5 separate regions of the Homo sapiens genome follow, and regions 1, 2, 3 and 5 are each linked to region 4. Evidence: promoter capture Hi-C in 16 types of primary human blood cells and fetal thymus (Javierre and others, 2016). All regions are on one chromosome and are shown on one strand. Each heading gives the region's core, a stretch centred on a gene start or on the middle of the fragment in contact. The rest is flanking DNA. Distances are from core to core; before and after follow the strand shown.

The links. The method cuts DNA at HindIII sites, captures the fragments that hold promoters and counts their contacts. A CHiCAGO score of 5 or more calls a contact.
Region 1: a fragment that was not itself captured here is called in contact with the fragment with the promoter of MAN2A2 in region 4 in 1 of 17 cell types (naive B cells); the score reaches 5.1 in naive B cells.
Region 2: a fragment that was not itself captured here is called in contact with the fragment with the promoter of MAN2A2 in region 4 in 9 of 17 cell types (total B cells, erythroblasts, activated CD4 T cells and 6 more); the score reaches 8.8 in total B cells.
Region 3: a contact is called between a fragment that was not itself captured here and the fragment with the promoter of MAN2A2 in region 4, in 1 of 17 cell types (activated CD4 T cells). The highest score is 5.8, in activated CD4 T cells.
Region 5: a fragment that was not itself captured here is called in contact with the fragment with the promoter of MAN2A2 in region 4 in 1 of 17 cell types (activated CD4 T cells); the score reaches 6.5 in activated CD4 T cells.

What each region holds. Positions count from the first base shown.
Region 1 is chr15:90,372,322-90,375,021 of GRCh38, reverse strand. No RefSeq gene overlaps it. Among named protein-coding and RNA genes, the nearest start is that of IQGAP1, 15 kb to the left of the region's middle. The HindIII fragment of the contact is 837 bases long and covers 1,030-1,866 here.
Region 2 is chr15:90,324,087-90,326,786 of GRCh38, reverse strand. No RefSeq gene overlaps it. Among named protein-coding and RNA genes, the nearest start is that of ZNF774, 27 kb to the left of the region's middle. The HindIII fragment of the contact is 8,593 bases long and covers 1-2,700 here.
Region 3 is chr15:90,345,467-90,348,310 of GRCh38, reverse strand. It overlaps the pseudogene GABARAPL3. Among named protein-coding and RNA genes, the nearest start is that of ZNF774, 5.4 kb to the left of the region's middle. The HindIII fragment of the contact is 2,574 bases long and covers 257-2,830 here.
Region 4 is chr15:90,901,960-90,904,726 of GRCh38, reverse strand. It overlaps MAN2A2 (mannosidase alpha class 2A member 2), which reads right to left and starts at 1,425. Exons shown (of 23, transcript NM_006122.4): 1 at 1,295-1,425; 2 at 388-537. The coding sequence starts at 519. RefSeq lists enhancers at 435-494, 2,335-2,384 and silencers at 1,445-1,874, 1,895-2,164. The HindIII fragment of the contact is 23,300 bases long and covers 1-2,767 here.
Region 5 is chr15:90,297,602-90,300,301 of GRCh38, reverse strand. It overlaps the pseudogene GOLGA2P8. Among named protein-coding and RNA genes, the nearest start is that of NGRN, 33 kb to the right of the region's middle. RefSeq lists a silencer at 1-181. The HindIII fragment of the contact is 8,093 bases long and covers 1-2,700 here.

The DNA.
Region 1 (2,700 bases), core at 199-2,698, 530 kb after region 4:
AGAGTACAGAAAAATCTAACTAGGCCTCTCATGAGATTACAAGCAATGAGTGACATTTCTACTACAACTTATAATGCCAGTGCAGGGCAAGGTAGAAACTGCAAGACTTCAGTCACTATTCAGTTATGTAAAGACTAACACGTGGGCACAGTGGCTCACGCCTGTAATCCTAGCACTTTGGGAGGCCATGGCAGGAAGATTGCTTGAGCCCAGCAGTTGGATACCAGCCTGTGCAACATGGTGAGACACCATCTCTACAAAAAATAAAAAAAATTAGCTGGGCGTAGTGGTGCATGCCTGTGGCCCCAGCTACTGGGGAGGCTGAGGTGGGAAGATCACTTGAGCTGGGGAGGTCGAGGCTGCAGGGAGCTGTGATTGCACCACTGCGTTCCAGCCTGGGAGACAGAGCAAGAACTTGTCTCAAAAGAAAAAAAAAAAAAGAGCTAGACAAGGTGGCTCACTCCTGTAATCTCAGCACTTTGAGAGGCCGAGGCAGGTGGAACCCCTCAGGTCAGGAGGTCCAAACCAGTGTAGCCAACATGGTGAAATTCTGTCTCTACTAAAAATACAAAAATTAGCCAGGCATGGTGGCATGCATCTGTAGTCCCAGCTATTTGGGAAGCTGAGGCAGGAGAATTGCTTGAACCCGGGAGGCGGAGCTTGCAGCGAGCCAAGATCACACCACTGCACTCCAGCCTGGGCAACAGAGCAAGACTCTGTCTCAAAAAAATTTTAAAAAAATTAAAAAAAAAGACTAACACAGGAAAAAACGGGAGAGACATATAGCTATGGAGCAATGTTCCTCCCTAAGACTCCAGTCAGTTCATTGACACATGTCCAGTTTGAATTTTTTTTTTTTTTTAAAAGAAAGGCCAGGTTGTACCACCTTCCTTACAATACAGAAACAAGCTCTCTCAACCACAAGCATCAATGACATTATCCAGTTTCGTGGAATCACTGGCAATGCCCCCATGTATCAGAATGTCTTCTGTGGCTGAATTTACATGTGAAGGTTAATTAAACAAAGCTTTATTTCAGTATCATGGCTTGTTTGCATTTACTCATTCATGTACCAACTGGCATAAGTGATACCTCCTCCAGGGAGCCTTCCTTGACTCTCAAGATAGCCCTTCTCTGGCTGACATATACTTCTTGTATTGAAACTATGTGTCTGGGCCGGGCATGGTGGCTCACACCTGTAATCCCAGCACTTTGGGAGGCCGAGGCAGGCGGATCACCTGAGTTCAGGAGTTTGAGACCAGCCTGGCCAACATGGCAAAAGCCTGTCTCTACTAAAAATACAAAAATTAGGTGGGTGTGGTGGCGCATTACTGTAATCCCAGCTACTGGGGAGTCAGAGGCAGGAGAATCGCTTGAACCCAGGAGGTGGAGGTTGTGGTGAGCTGAGATCACCTCACTGCATTCCGGCCTGAAGGACAGAGTGAGACTCTGTCTCAAAAAAAAAAAAAAAAAGAAAAAAGAAAGAAAGAAACTGTGTGTCTGTATGTCTGTTTCCCACAACCACTCTGTGCTCCTCAAGAGAACTGTCATGTTTATACCTGTATCCCCAGCACCCTCAACTAGGCCTGGATATAAGAGGTAATGAGTGTTTACTGAATTAAATTGAATAAATTAGAGAGATACAATGTGGGGTTCGACGTGTGTCCATATATTCTGTTTGTAACATGCCTCTGACTCTGGAGAGGGAAGACAGGCTATGCTGGCACCTAGACTCAGGCTTAGGTGCTAACATTTAGATGCTTCAGGTTTCCTTCAGTTGAGCCCAAGTCACCTGGATAAGGAAATTTATGTATTTTTAGTACATAAGTGACAGATTCAGGGCAAACTCAGTAATAAAAGCAAGCTTCTGGCTTCAAGATCCCAAGAGATTTTCTCTTAAAGAGTTTGGGCTGGACGCAGTGGCTCAAGCCTGTAATCCCAGCACTTTGGGAGGCCGAGGCGGGCAGATCACGAGGTCAGGAGTTCAAAACCAGCCTGGCCAAAATGGTGAAACCCCACCTCTACTAAAAATACAAAAATTAGACCGGGTGTGGTGGCTCAGACCGGGCGCGGTGGCTCAGACCGGGCGCGGTGGCTCACGCCTGTAATCCCAGCACTTTGGGAGGCCGAGGAGGGCGGATCATCTGAGGTCAGGAGTTCGAGACCAGCCTGGCCAACATGGTGAAACCCCGTCTCTTCTAAAAATACAAAAATTAGCCGGGCATGGTGGCAGTTGCCTATAATCCCAGCTACTCGGGAGGCTGAGGCAGGAGAATTGCCTGAATACAGGAGGCGGAGGTTGCAGTGAGCCAAGATCATGCCACTGCATACCAGCCTGGGCAACAGAGCAAGACTCCATCTCAAAAAAAAAAAAAAAAGAATTTTATAGGCAACTAAAATGGGTGGGACCAACCTGCCATCCCAGCTACAGAGAGAAAAGCCAAACATTAGTGGACTGGGACCTTACTGTGGATGAAGAATCTAGTATCTGGGGCGGAAAGCAAGGTCCTCCCAGGAGAAGAGCAAGAAAGGAAGGTTGATGCTAGAGCCCGTGGAAGGGTCTTAAATTCTACATTAAACGAGATTCTACTTTCGTCTGTAGACAATAGGAAATGATTTAAGATTTTATAAGCAGGGGAGGAGTAGGATTTGATTCAACAAAGATTTATGAAATGTTTACTTTTGTACTAGTATGAACAA
Region 2 (2,700 bases), core at 30-2,529, 580 kb after region 4:
TAAGGAAGGGGGATTGCTTGAACCCAGGAGTCAAGGCTGTAGTGAGCCATGATTGTGCCACTGCACTCCAGCCTGGGTGACAGAGCAAGACCTTGTTTCAAAAAAAAAAAAAAAGGAAGAAATGATTACAACCATCGATTAGTCATTAGTGCCATGCCTTAGCTGAGAACTTCTTCTCTGGGCCATTCTGCAGCCCTCTGGAATGGCTTTAGGACCTGGCTACCAGGCTCCCCTTATCCCAGTGTCTTGCTCTCATCCTCAGTGGCTTCAGCATACTTATTTATTTTATTATTTTTTTTGGTGGGGGGACGGAGTTTCGCTATTGTCGCCCAGGCTGGAGTCCAATGGCACGATCTCAGCTTGCTGCAACCTCCGTGTCCCGGGTTCAAGTGATTCTCCTGCCTCAGCCCCCTGAGTAGTTGGGATTATAGGTGCCCGCCACACACCCAGCTAATTTTTTGTATTTTTAGTAGAGATGGGGTTTCACCACGTTGGCCAGGCTGGTCTAGAACTCCTGACCTCAAGTGATCCACCTGCCGTGGCCTCCTGAAGTGCTGGGATTACAGGTGTGAGCCACCGTGCCCGGCCTCATCCTTATTAATTACAGCACCACCACCTGTGCTCATGGTCCCTTTACCTCCTCTGCTCCAGTAACCTCGAAAGGCCAGCCACATCACAGAGCTGCTTCCATTTCAGCCTCTCAACTCCATCTCTCCTTTTCCCTTAGAATAACTGGGGCTGCCCATTATCCTTGCCACAGCCTCCTCTGCTTCCTTGCTTATTGTTCCTTTTCTACCTCCTCCCTCAGTCTGGACTCCACGGTCGGCTCTTCAACCATGTTCCTGCTAGTGGCTTACGGTTCCTGTTCTCCAACTTTCTAATCTACCTACTGTGTCATCCCCAAGCAGGGGATTCCCTGCCATCTACTTCTGCAACTCTCAGGCTGGCAGAAGTGGCCTCCATGCTGCCCAGTCAGAAGGGCCTGTGTGGCCAACACAGCTGCCGCCCCAGTTCCATCCTTCATTCTCTTTCCTTCCAGTTGTCCAGGCCTTGCCATCTGACTGGCCTGGAGAGTAGGGAAGAGATGGGGAAAACAAAGGAGGGGTGCAAACATCTGGAGCTCAGTGCCCTGGTCTGCTCAGCCTGGGGGAGATTCTCCTCCCTCCTCTTCCTCCCCTGCTCTGTTCCTTCACCTTCTTCCGCCTTGAGGACTCCCTGATTCCCTTATATATCCATGAAAACTTTTACATCACTAAATAAATTGCCTTTTTTTTTTTAAATGAAGTCTCTCTCTGTTGCCCAGGCTGAAGGGCAGTGGCATGATCTCGGCTCACTGCAACCTCCGCCTCTTGGGTTCAAGTGATTCTCCCACCTCAACCTCCCGAGTAGCTGGGATTACAGGCGTGCGCTACCATGCCTGGTTGACTTTTTTTTTTTTTTTTTTTTTTTGGATTTTTAGTAGAAACAGGGTTTTACCATGTTGGCCAGTCTGGTCTCAAACTCTTGACCTCAAGAGATCTGCCCACCTGGGCCTCCCAAAGTGCTGGGATTACAGGTGTGAGCCACCATGCCCCAGTGAAATTGCTTAATTTCACAAACATTTTGAGAGTCAACTGGGAACTGTCAACCTAGAAGGAAGCTGAAGCAAAATTAATATAAGTAGAGAATTTATCTGGGGCTGGGCATAGTGGTACACTCCTGTAATCGAGGATTCTGGGAGGCTGAGTTGGGAGGATTGCTTGCCAGGAGTTTGAGAACAGCCTGGGCAGCATAGTGAAACCCCATCTGTACAAAAAATTTAAAAATTAGCCAGGCATGGTGGCTCATGTCTGTAGTCCCAGCTACTCAGGAGGCTGAAGCAGGAGGATTGCTTGAGCCCAGGAGTTCGAGGTTATGGTGAGCTAAGATCCTGCCACTGCACTCCAGTCTGGGCAACAGGAGCAAGACCTTTTCTCTTAAAAAAAAATAAATAACAATAGTAAGACAGAGGATCTATTTGGGCCAAGCTAGATATTGCAAACTGGGAGCATAGAGTCAAGTTACCCTCAGTATACATCCTGATTAGCAGCAGTTGTGAGGCAGGAGGCAGGCCTGTACTCCAGGCCAGATTGAAGACTAGCTGAAACAGGGAAGAGGGGAAAGCACCTCTCCATAACACATGCCCACCAGTGCCATGTCAGTTTACCAGTGCCCTGGCAACACCCAGAAGTTACTGCCCCTTTCCATGGCAACAACCTGGGAGTTATACCCTTTTCCTAGAAATTTCTGAAAAACCCATCCCTTAATTTGCATGTAATTAAAAGTGGGTATAAATATGACTGTGGAACTGCCCCTTAGCTGCTACTCTCCACACACTGACTATGGGCTAGCTCTTCCTGCAGGAGCAGTTACAGAGCGGTAACACTGCTGCCTCAATAAAACTGGTTTTGGTGGCGGGGCGTGGTGGCTCACACCTGTAATCCCAGCACTTTGGGAGGCCGAGGTGGGTGAATCACCTGAGGTCAGGAGTTCAAGACAAGCCTGACCAACATGGTGAAAATACAAAATACAAAAATTACTAAATTATTATTATTACTAAAAATAATAGCCTCCCAAGTAGCTGGGATTACAGGCATGCACCACCACCCCCTGCTAATTTTGTCTTTTTAGTAGAGACGGGGATTTCACCATGTTGTCACCTTGGTCTCGAACTCCTGACCT
Region 3 (2,844 bases), core at 294-2,793, 560 kb after region 4:
CCAGTTGCAATCTCACTCACAAACATCACAGTACCACCCCAGGGGCGGCAGTAGACACCAACCCAGAAATTTAGACAGGGATCTCTTATCTTTGGAAAATAGGGGTTAGGCATGAGGGTGGTTATGATTAAGAAGATAATTTTGTTGTTAAATAGCATTAAACTGGAATTGACAGAGTGAGTTGAGCATCTCTGTCTAACCTGCTCTTTCTCTCTGGTGCTCCTCATCTCACCCCTACCTTGGAATTTAATAAGCTTCAGGCATTTCCAATTGCAGACTAAAACCACTTCTACCATCTCCTCTAGTATTTTCCATGTATCAGGACAGAGATGTCTTATGTAGGGAAGGGGCAGGTATGAAGTGAGGTAGATTATCTATACCTCTCACTCATTCAGGATTCTCGCTCCCATGCTGCTGTCCCTTCATTCTCACACTCACAGGAATGCTATGTGATGGCCAGCTGCTTCCCTTCTTGGTTATCCACTGCAGCTGCTAGTTAGAAAGGTTTGCAGGGATGACTTTTAGTAAATCATGGGGATTTTATTGATTTATTATCACTTATAGGATTTTGTGGGGTGGGAGTGGGGAGCAGGAATTGCACTCAGACATGACATTTCAATTCATCTCTGCAAATGAAAAGGGTTCTTCCTCTTGGGGGAAATCTGTGTGTCAGTTCTGTCAGCTGCAAGTTCTTGTGTAATGAAGTCAATGCTGTCAGGCCAAGTGAAGGGAAAAGAGAGATCAGACTGTTACTGTGTCTATGTAGAAAGGAAAGACATAAGAGACTCCATTTTGAAAAAGACCTGTACTTTAAACAATTGCTTTGCTGAGATGTTGTTAATTTGTAGCTTTGCCCCAGCCACTTTGACCCAACCACTGTGACCCAACTTGGAGCTCACAAAAACATGTGTTGTATAAAATCAAGGTTTAAGTGATCCAGGGCTGTGCAGGACGTGCCTTGTTAACAAAATGTTTACAAGCAGTATACTTGGTGAAAGTCATCGCCATTCTCTAGTCTCAATAAGCCATGGGCACAATGTACTGTGGAAAGCTGCAGGGACCTCTGCCCTTGAAAGCGGGGTATTGTCCAAGTTTTCTCCCCGTGTGATAGTCTGAAATATGGCCTCGTGGGATGAGAAAGACCTGACTGTCCCCCAGCCCGACACCCGTAAAGGGTCTGTGCTGAGGTGGATTAGTAAAAGAGGAAAGCCTCTTGCAGTTGAGATAGAGGAAGGCCACTGTCTCCTGTCTGCCCCTGGGAACTGAATGTCTCGGTATAAAACCCGATTGTACATTTGTTCAATTCTGAGATAGGAGAAAAACCGCCCTATGGTGGGAGGCGAGATATGTTTGCAGTAATGCTGCCTTGTTATTCTTTACTCCGCTGAGATGTTTGGGTGGAGAGAAACATAAATCTGGCTTACGTGCACGTCCAGTCATAGTACATTCCCTTGAACTTAATTATGACATAGATTCCTTTGCTCACATGTTTTTTGCTGACCTTCTCCTTATTATCACCCTGCTCTCCTACTACATTCCTTTTTGCTGAAATAATGAAAATAATAATCAATAAAAACTGAGGGAACTCAGAGGCCGGTGCCAGTGCAGGTCCTTGGTGTGTTGAGTGCCGGTCCCCTGGGCCCACTGTTGTTTCTCTATACTTTGTCTCTGTGTCTTATTTGTTTTCTCAGTCTCTTGTCCCACCCGACTAGAAATACCCACAGGTGTGGAGGGGCAGGCCACCCCTTCACCAAGGAAATGAAATAATTGCTTACCTTAAAAAACAAAACAAAACATTTGCCAGGTGCAGTGGCTTATGCCTGTAATCCCAGCACTTTGGGAAGCTGAGGCAGGAGGATTGCTTGAGCCCAGGAGTTCAAGACCAGCCTGGGCAACATGGCAAGGCCTCGTCTCTACTAAAAATAAAAAAATCAGCTGGGTTTGGTGATGCGTACGTGTAGTCTCAGCTACCTGGGAAGCTGAGGTAAGAGGATCACTTGAGCCTGGGGAGATTGAGGCTGCAGTGAGCCAGGATGGCACCACTGCACTCTGGCCTGGAAGACAGAGTGAAACCCTGTCTCAAAAAAAATTATTTTATTTCTGTTGATTAGGAATCTGGAACAGCCTAGGTGAGTATCTCTAATTGAAGGTCTCTCACAAGGTTGCAGTCTAGACACTGGCTGGGACTACAGTTATCTGTAGGATTGACTGGGGCTGGATGATCAGCTTGCTCCCAAGCTCCCTCATGTGACTGTTTCCTCACGTGTAGCTTCTCCTCACAACGTGTCAGCTGGCTTCCCCAGGGTGAGTGATTGAGAGAAAGAAGCAGAAGCTGCAATCTAACCTTGGAAGTGATAGACCATCATTTCTGCCATACTCCTTTGGTCACACAGACCAACCCTGGTACAGTGTGGGAGGGGACTACACAAAGGTATGAATACTTGGAGGCAAGGATCACAGTGAGTGTATTAGTCTGGGTTCTCCAGAGAGAAAGAATCAATAGGATATATAGATATAGAGAACCAGGGAAGCCAGTAGTGTGAGTCAGTTTAAGTTCAAAGGCCCAAGAACTTGAGGGGCTGCTGGTGCAAGTCCTGAAGTCTGAAGGCTGAAGAACCTGGAGTTCTGATGTCTAACATCAGGAGAAGGGTGTCCCAGCTCAGAAGAGAGAGAGAGAAAATTCGCCTTTCCTCTGCCCTTTTGCACTATCTGGGCCCTCAGCTGAGTGGATGCTACCATCCACCCTGGGTGAGGGCAGATCTTCCTTATCAGTCTACTGATTTAAATGCCAGTCTCTTCCAAACACACTTACAGGCATAACTATAAAGCTTTCTCAGCTATCTG
Region 4 (2,767 bases), core at 176-2,675:
TCCCAGCTACTTGGGAGGCTGAGGCAGGAGAATTGCTTGAACCTGGGAGGCGGAGGTTGCAGTGAGCCAAGATCGCGCCACTGCACTCAAGGCTGGGCGACAGAGCGAGACTCTGTCTCAAAAAAAAAAAAAAGAAAGAAAAGAATTCAGGAGAACAGAGTGACAATACTCATTGCCATTGACATTTTTTCTTCCTTCCTTCTTTTCGCCATCACTGTTTTTAGCTGAGGGTTTCTACAAAACCTGACTATTGGGAAGGAAGGCTCCTGTCCTGTACTGACATTACCCTCCAGCGGGGGGTGGGAGGGGAGGCGGCGGGGTGGGAGGTGCATACCCTGAGCCCAGGTGACTTGTATACAAAGAAATTAGCAACCAGGCACGACTCACCCGGGGGAAGTTCCCACCATTCTGGTGTCGGGTGGGATCGTGTTGCACTCGGTCCAGCATGAGGTAGAGCGAGAAGACTGCCACACAGAAGATGGCAGCCCCACACACTGTCACCTGCTTTTTCAGCTTCATACTGGCCTCCACACACACCTGGCAGGAAGGACACCATCTGTAGCTCCAACATGCAAAATGCCCGTGGCAGTCTTTCCACCAAATACCCCAGTGAGTTCCTGAGGGCTGTTCCAAAGGAACACCCATTTGCCTGGCTCCAAGTAGCACAAGCAGCACATCTGAGGCTGGCCCACCTGGTCCTGGTAGCAGCTCTGCCGCTAGGGTGGAGAGGACGCTCTCCTTTGGCTGGTGCTATGAAAAACGGGCCCAGGATAAGAGTCCCAGCTCCGACTGGAGCGCACCACACAAGCTCCTGATTACACAGCTTCCCTGCCTAGATAGGAGGTGCCTGTTCAGGCTCCTCGGCCATGTGCTTCTAGTTTCAGGTGAATAAGCTAGTCTCTATTTTGTTTGATTTAAAAGTTTAGCCAGAACCCAAAGAGACTGATAGGAAAGCCTTTCTCAGTGCCCTTTCGGGTCAAACTGGCACTCACCAGAAACAGTGCCTGGCACGATCCTTTCTCAGAAACACAGAATGAGTTTCTTTCTAATAAAGAAGAAAGATGCTTGTGTTTCTAGCATAAAGCAAGCCCTGTGTGTTCTCCCTGTTTCTCTACTGTTCACTGCAGTGGGAAACTTCCAGCCGCGGTTTGCAGAGCACTTAGGGGACCCCTAGGAAGCCTGCAGTGACGCCGAAGGCCCCCTGGGAAGGGAGAGACGGGGCCCAGTGCTCAGCTGCGAGGCAACTTCAGGGGACCCGTGCCCCCCGCCGCCACCGCCCTCGGGCTCCGCTTGCCTGCTCAGGAGGAAGGAGGACGCTAACTGCGGAGCCGAGCGTGGGCGGGACCGCGCTCCGGAGTCTGCTCCGCGGGCCCTGGGGCCGAGGAGCTTTGTCGCCTCTGCGTTGTGCCCTACTTAGCGCGATCTGATTCTGCTCGGGAGCTTCCGGGCAATATTTTCAGCCCTTAGAGACTGGGTCTAGGCCAATGTGGGTGGAGCTGGGGAGAGAGTTGGATCACAGAGGGCAGGCACCTGCCGCCAGGTCTCTGGCCGCCCGCCCGGCTCCCTCCCCACCCGCTCCGACTTCGTCGGCCCCGGGGACCGCAGAGACAGGCGCCAGGTACGGGCCTCAGGCAGCCTCCTGTCCCTTCCTGGCCCCTCTGACGCCGCAGTGGCGCTCGCACTCCCGCCGCCCGAGCCCGGCCTCTGTCGGGGCAGCCGGAGCCCTCCCGCGCGCGCACCCGGCCCGTTACCGTCAGCGCCCGGCCTCCGCGCCGCTCCGGGCCCAGTCGGCCGAGCTGCCGGCTCTCACACGCCCGGGGACGGCGGCCCGCGTGCAGGCAGCGACGCAGGCGAAGGCGGGCGCCCGCCCACCCGTAGCCCCCTGCTCCGCGCGCCGCTGCCGCGCTCCCGCTGGGCCCCGGGCCGCCGGCGCGCTCCGCTGCGCCGGCCCCGCGCGGGTCCGCCAGCCTCTGAAGCTGCCGGGCCCAGCAGCGTGCGGGGCGGGGACAGCCGCGCCGCCCGCCCCGGCCTGCGTGTGCCCGGCGGAGCTGACAGGAGCTCTGGCCGCCGCGGTCCCCGCCCGGCTCCTCCCGGGCCCGCTCCGCTGGGCTGCAGTGCGCAGCCGCACCAGCCCGGGCCGGGCCTGGCCAGCTGCGGAACCTCAGGAGGGACGCGCGACTGAATTTTTTCGGAATCCTACTTGAGTAAGCGCATGATCGGGCAGTGGTCGAAACGCCCGCCTCCGTCTCGGCAGACGCGTAGCGGGGTGCGTTCTCCGCGGCCTCACCCGGCTCCGGCCCAGGTAGCCTTAGGTCTCTGTCGTTGCGCCCCTCGGGCAAAGGGGTGCTGCCTCCTGTCGGTACAGCGCATTCCTCGAGTCCCTTTCCTTTCCGTGCCTGCTCTATGTTTCCTGCCAGCGAGTGAACAAGACACAGACTTTTCTTGGCTGTTTCCCTTTTACTGGGCATCTAGGTTGTTTACAGTTTTTCAGTGTAATCCATACTGCAATGAACATCTCCATGAATTCCACATTTTTGTTCTTTTTAAGTTATATATAACATTATCTGAATGTGACCCCCCAAATTCATGTTCAAATCCTAATCCCTCAAGGTGATGATGGTATTAGGAGATGGGCCTTTGGGGGTGAACAGAGTTTGAAGGGAGAGCTCTCATGAATGGGATTAGTGCCGGTATCAAATGACCCCGAGAGTCGGCCCCTTCAACCACGTGAGAACACAGCTAGAAGGCACTATCTGTGCACCACAGG
Region 5 (2,700 bases), core at 8-2,507, 600 kb after region 4:
TGTAACTTTTTTTTTTTTTTTTTTTTTGAGATGGAGTCTTGCTCTGTTGCCCAGGCTGGAGTACAGTGGTGCCATCTGGGCTCACTGCAACCTCTGCCTTTCGGGTTCAAGCAATTCTCCTGCCTCAGCCTCCCGAATAGCTGGGATTACAGGCGCCCGCCACCACACCTGGCTAATTTTTTGTATTTTTAGTAGAGACAGGGTTTCACCATGTTGGCCAGGCTGGTCTTGAACTCCTGACCTCAGGTGATCTGCCCGCCTCAGCCTCCCAAAGTACTGGGATCCCAAAGTGGGTGGATCACCTGAGATAGGGAGTTTGAGACCAGCCTGACCAACATGGAGAAACCCATCTCTACTAAAAATACAAAATTAGCCAGGCGTGGTGGTGAATGCCTGTAATCCCAGCTACTTAGGAGGCTGAGGCAGGAGAATCTCTTGAACCTGGGAGGTGGAGGTTCCGGTGAGCTGAGATTGTGCCATTGCACTCCGGCCTGGGCAACAAGAACAAAACTCCGTCTCAAAAAAATAAAAATAAAAAAGTTTTGGAAATAAGTTGTGGGAAAAAAGTTATGGAAAAAGTTATGGAAAAATATTCCAAAAAAAGTTTTACGAAAAAAAGTTATGTGATAAATATTAAATAAATAAAAGCAGGCCACTTTCAGCAAAGCCTGGAGAAGTGTCTGATGGGGGAGACAGGTGAAGATGAGATGAAGATCGCGGTCATCCAAAAGCAGGGAACTAGGCCCAGGGCGGTAGCTCACACCTGTAAGCCCAGTGAGCCACTGACCATAACATTTTTTATCCCGTAACTTTTTTATCCCATAACGTAACTTTATCCCATAACTTTTTAATCTCATAACTTTTTAAATCTCATAACTTTTTTTAATCTCCTAACTTTTTAAAATCCCATAACTATTTTTTCAGTATGTGTTCTTTTGGTAAACACTTGCAGCCGGGCGCGGTGGCTCACGCCTGTAATCCCAGCACTTTGGGAGGCTGAGGTGGGCAGATCACGAGGTCAGGAGTTTGAGACCAGCCTGGCCAACATAGTGAAACCCCCATCTCTACTAAAAATACAAAAATTAGCTGGGCATGGTGGCGTGCACCTGTAGTCCCAGCTACTCGGGAGGCTGAGGCAGGAGAACTGCTTGAAACCAGGAGGTGGAGGTTGCAGTGAGCCGAGATCGTGCCACTGCACTCTGGCCTGGGCAACAGAGTGAAATTCCATCTCAAAATAAATAAATTAATTAATTAGTTAAATGCTTGCATAGTCATATTACAATTTTGTAAAAATAAAAACACTATTTCATGCCAAGCATGCCTGGCATTTGCACAATCTCAATACCTTTAATACTATAGTTTTCAAGACACACAAAATAAAAATTTAAGGCAAAAACAGCACTTTGCAACAATAATTTATTACATACAGTAGCATCACAGCAGTATTCAATAATGCCACTTTAGGCAAAAGTCTTTCAGTATTTCCATTATAGATTCTGTTTACAAGAATTCCTAAATTGGTAAGTCATTATAAGAAAACTTGGCAAATAAAGTTTTGGACTGGAATTGGCATTTCTTTCTTTACTTTTCCTTCCCCTAGTTTCTTTCTTTTAAGCTACAGTATTCATATTTTAAAATGTTTTAATTTATTTCAAAACATTAAAATAGCAGTTACATTTTTTAATAGTTATACTATTGTAAAATGACTAAGAAAGTTTTAGAGAAACTATATTCTGGATAAGGCTGATTTACATTTTCAAATTTTCTAGAAATCAGCTTTGGTTTTAACATTAGTTTTTCAGTTCTGGAAAACCTATTAGTATTAATCAAATACTTCAAAATGATTATCATATACTGCAACCTTTAAATAAACAAGTATTTTGATTCTTTACCTCCTACAGAAATTCAAATTTATTCGGTTGAACTCACATTTTAAAATTCTATGTTTCCATGAACTCTAACCTTCTAATGTTGCCTGCTAAGCAAATTGAAAGCTGTCTTATACTGAATGAGAAAGAGAACAAATATCTGGCTGAATGAGGTATTGCAAAAGACTGCATGCCCTTTGAAGAAAGACTTAAGTTATTATAATATGATTTCCATCCTTGTTAGCTTTTTCTTAAATATATGACAAAAATACCTACACAAAAAGTAGTATCTCAGTTAATATAGTAAATTTATTTCCAGACAGACATTCAGCTTAAGTATGCCGGTATGTGAGTTAATCCAGAGGTACCTGATGAACACATTATTGTCAGATTGATTACAGATGCTAAACGCTATCCGAAGGTCATTCCTAGTCATTTACATTTATCAATGTAAAAGTGAAGTGATTTGAACTATTAAAATACCTTTGAAATAATTTATCAATGTATCAGATAAACCCAGTTTCAGAATGATAAAGAAAAACTGTTAGACCAAATAATGTGGCTAATTGACAGTGGTACGATTTCTAGCCCGAGGGTTTAAAATGGACTTAAAGTAACTGTCTTTAAACTGAACTCAAAGAATGCAAAAGCAGCAAGTTCAGAAAATAAAAGGCAACAACAGGACCTTAAGTCCATTTTAAACCCTCGGGCTAGAAATCGTACCACTGTTAATTAGCCACATTATTTGGTCTAACAGTTTATCATTCTGAAACTAGGTTTATCTAATACATTAATAAATTCATACAATTTGGAAGAGTCAGTTGAAGTCACA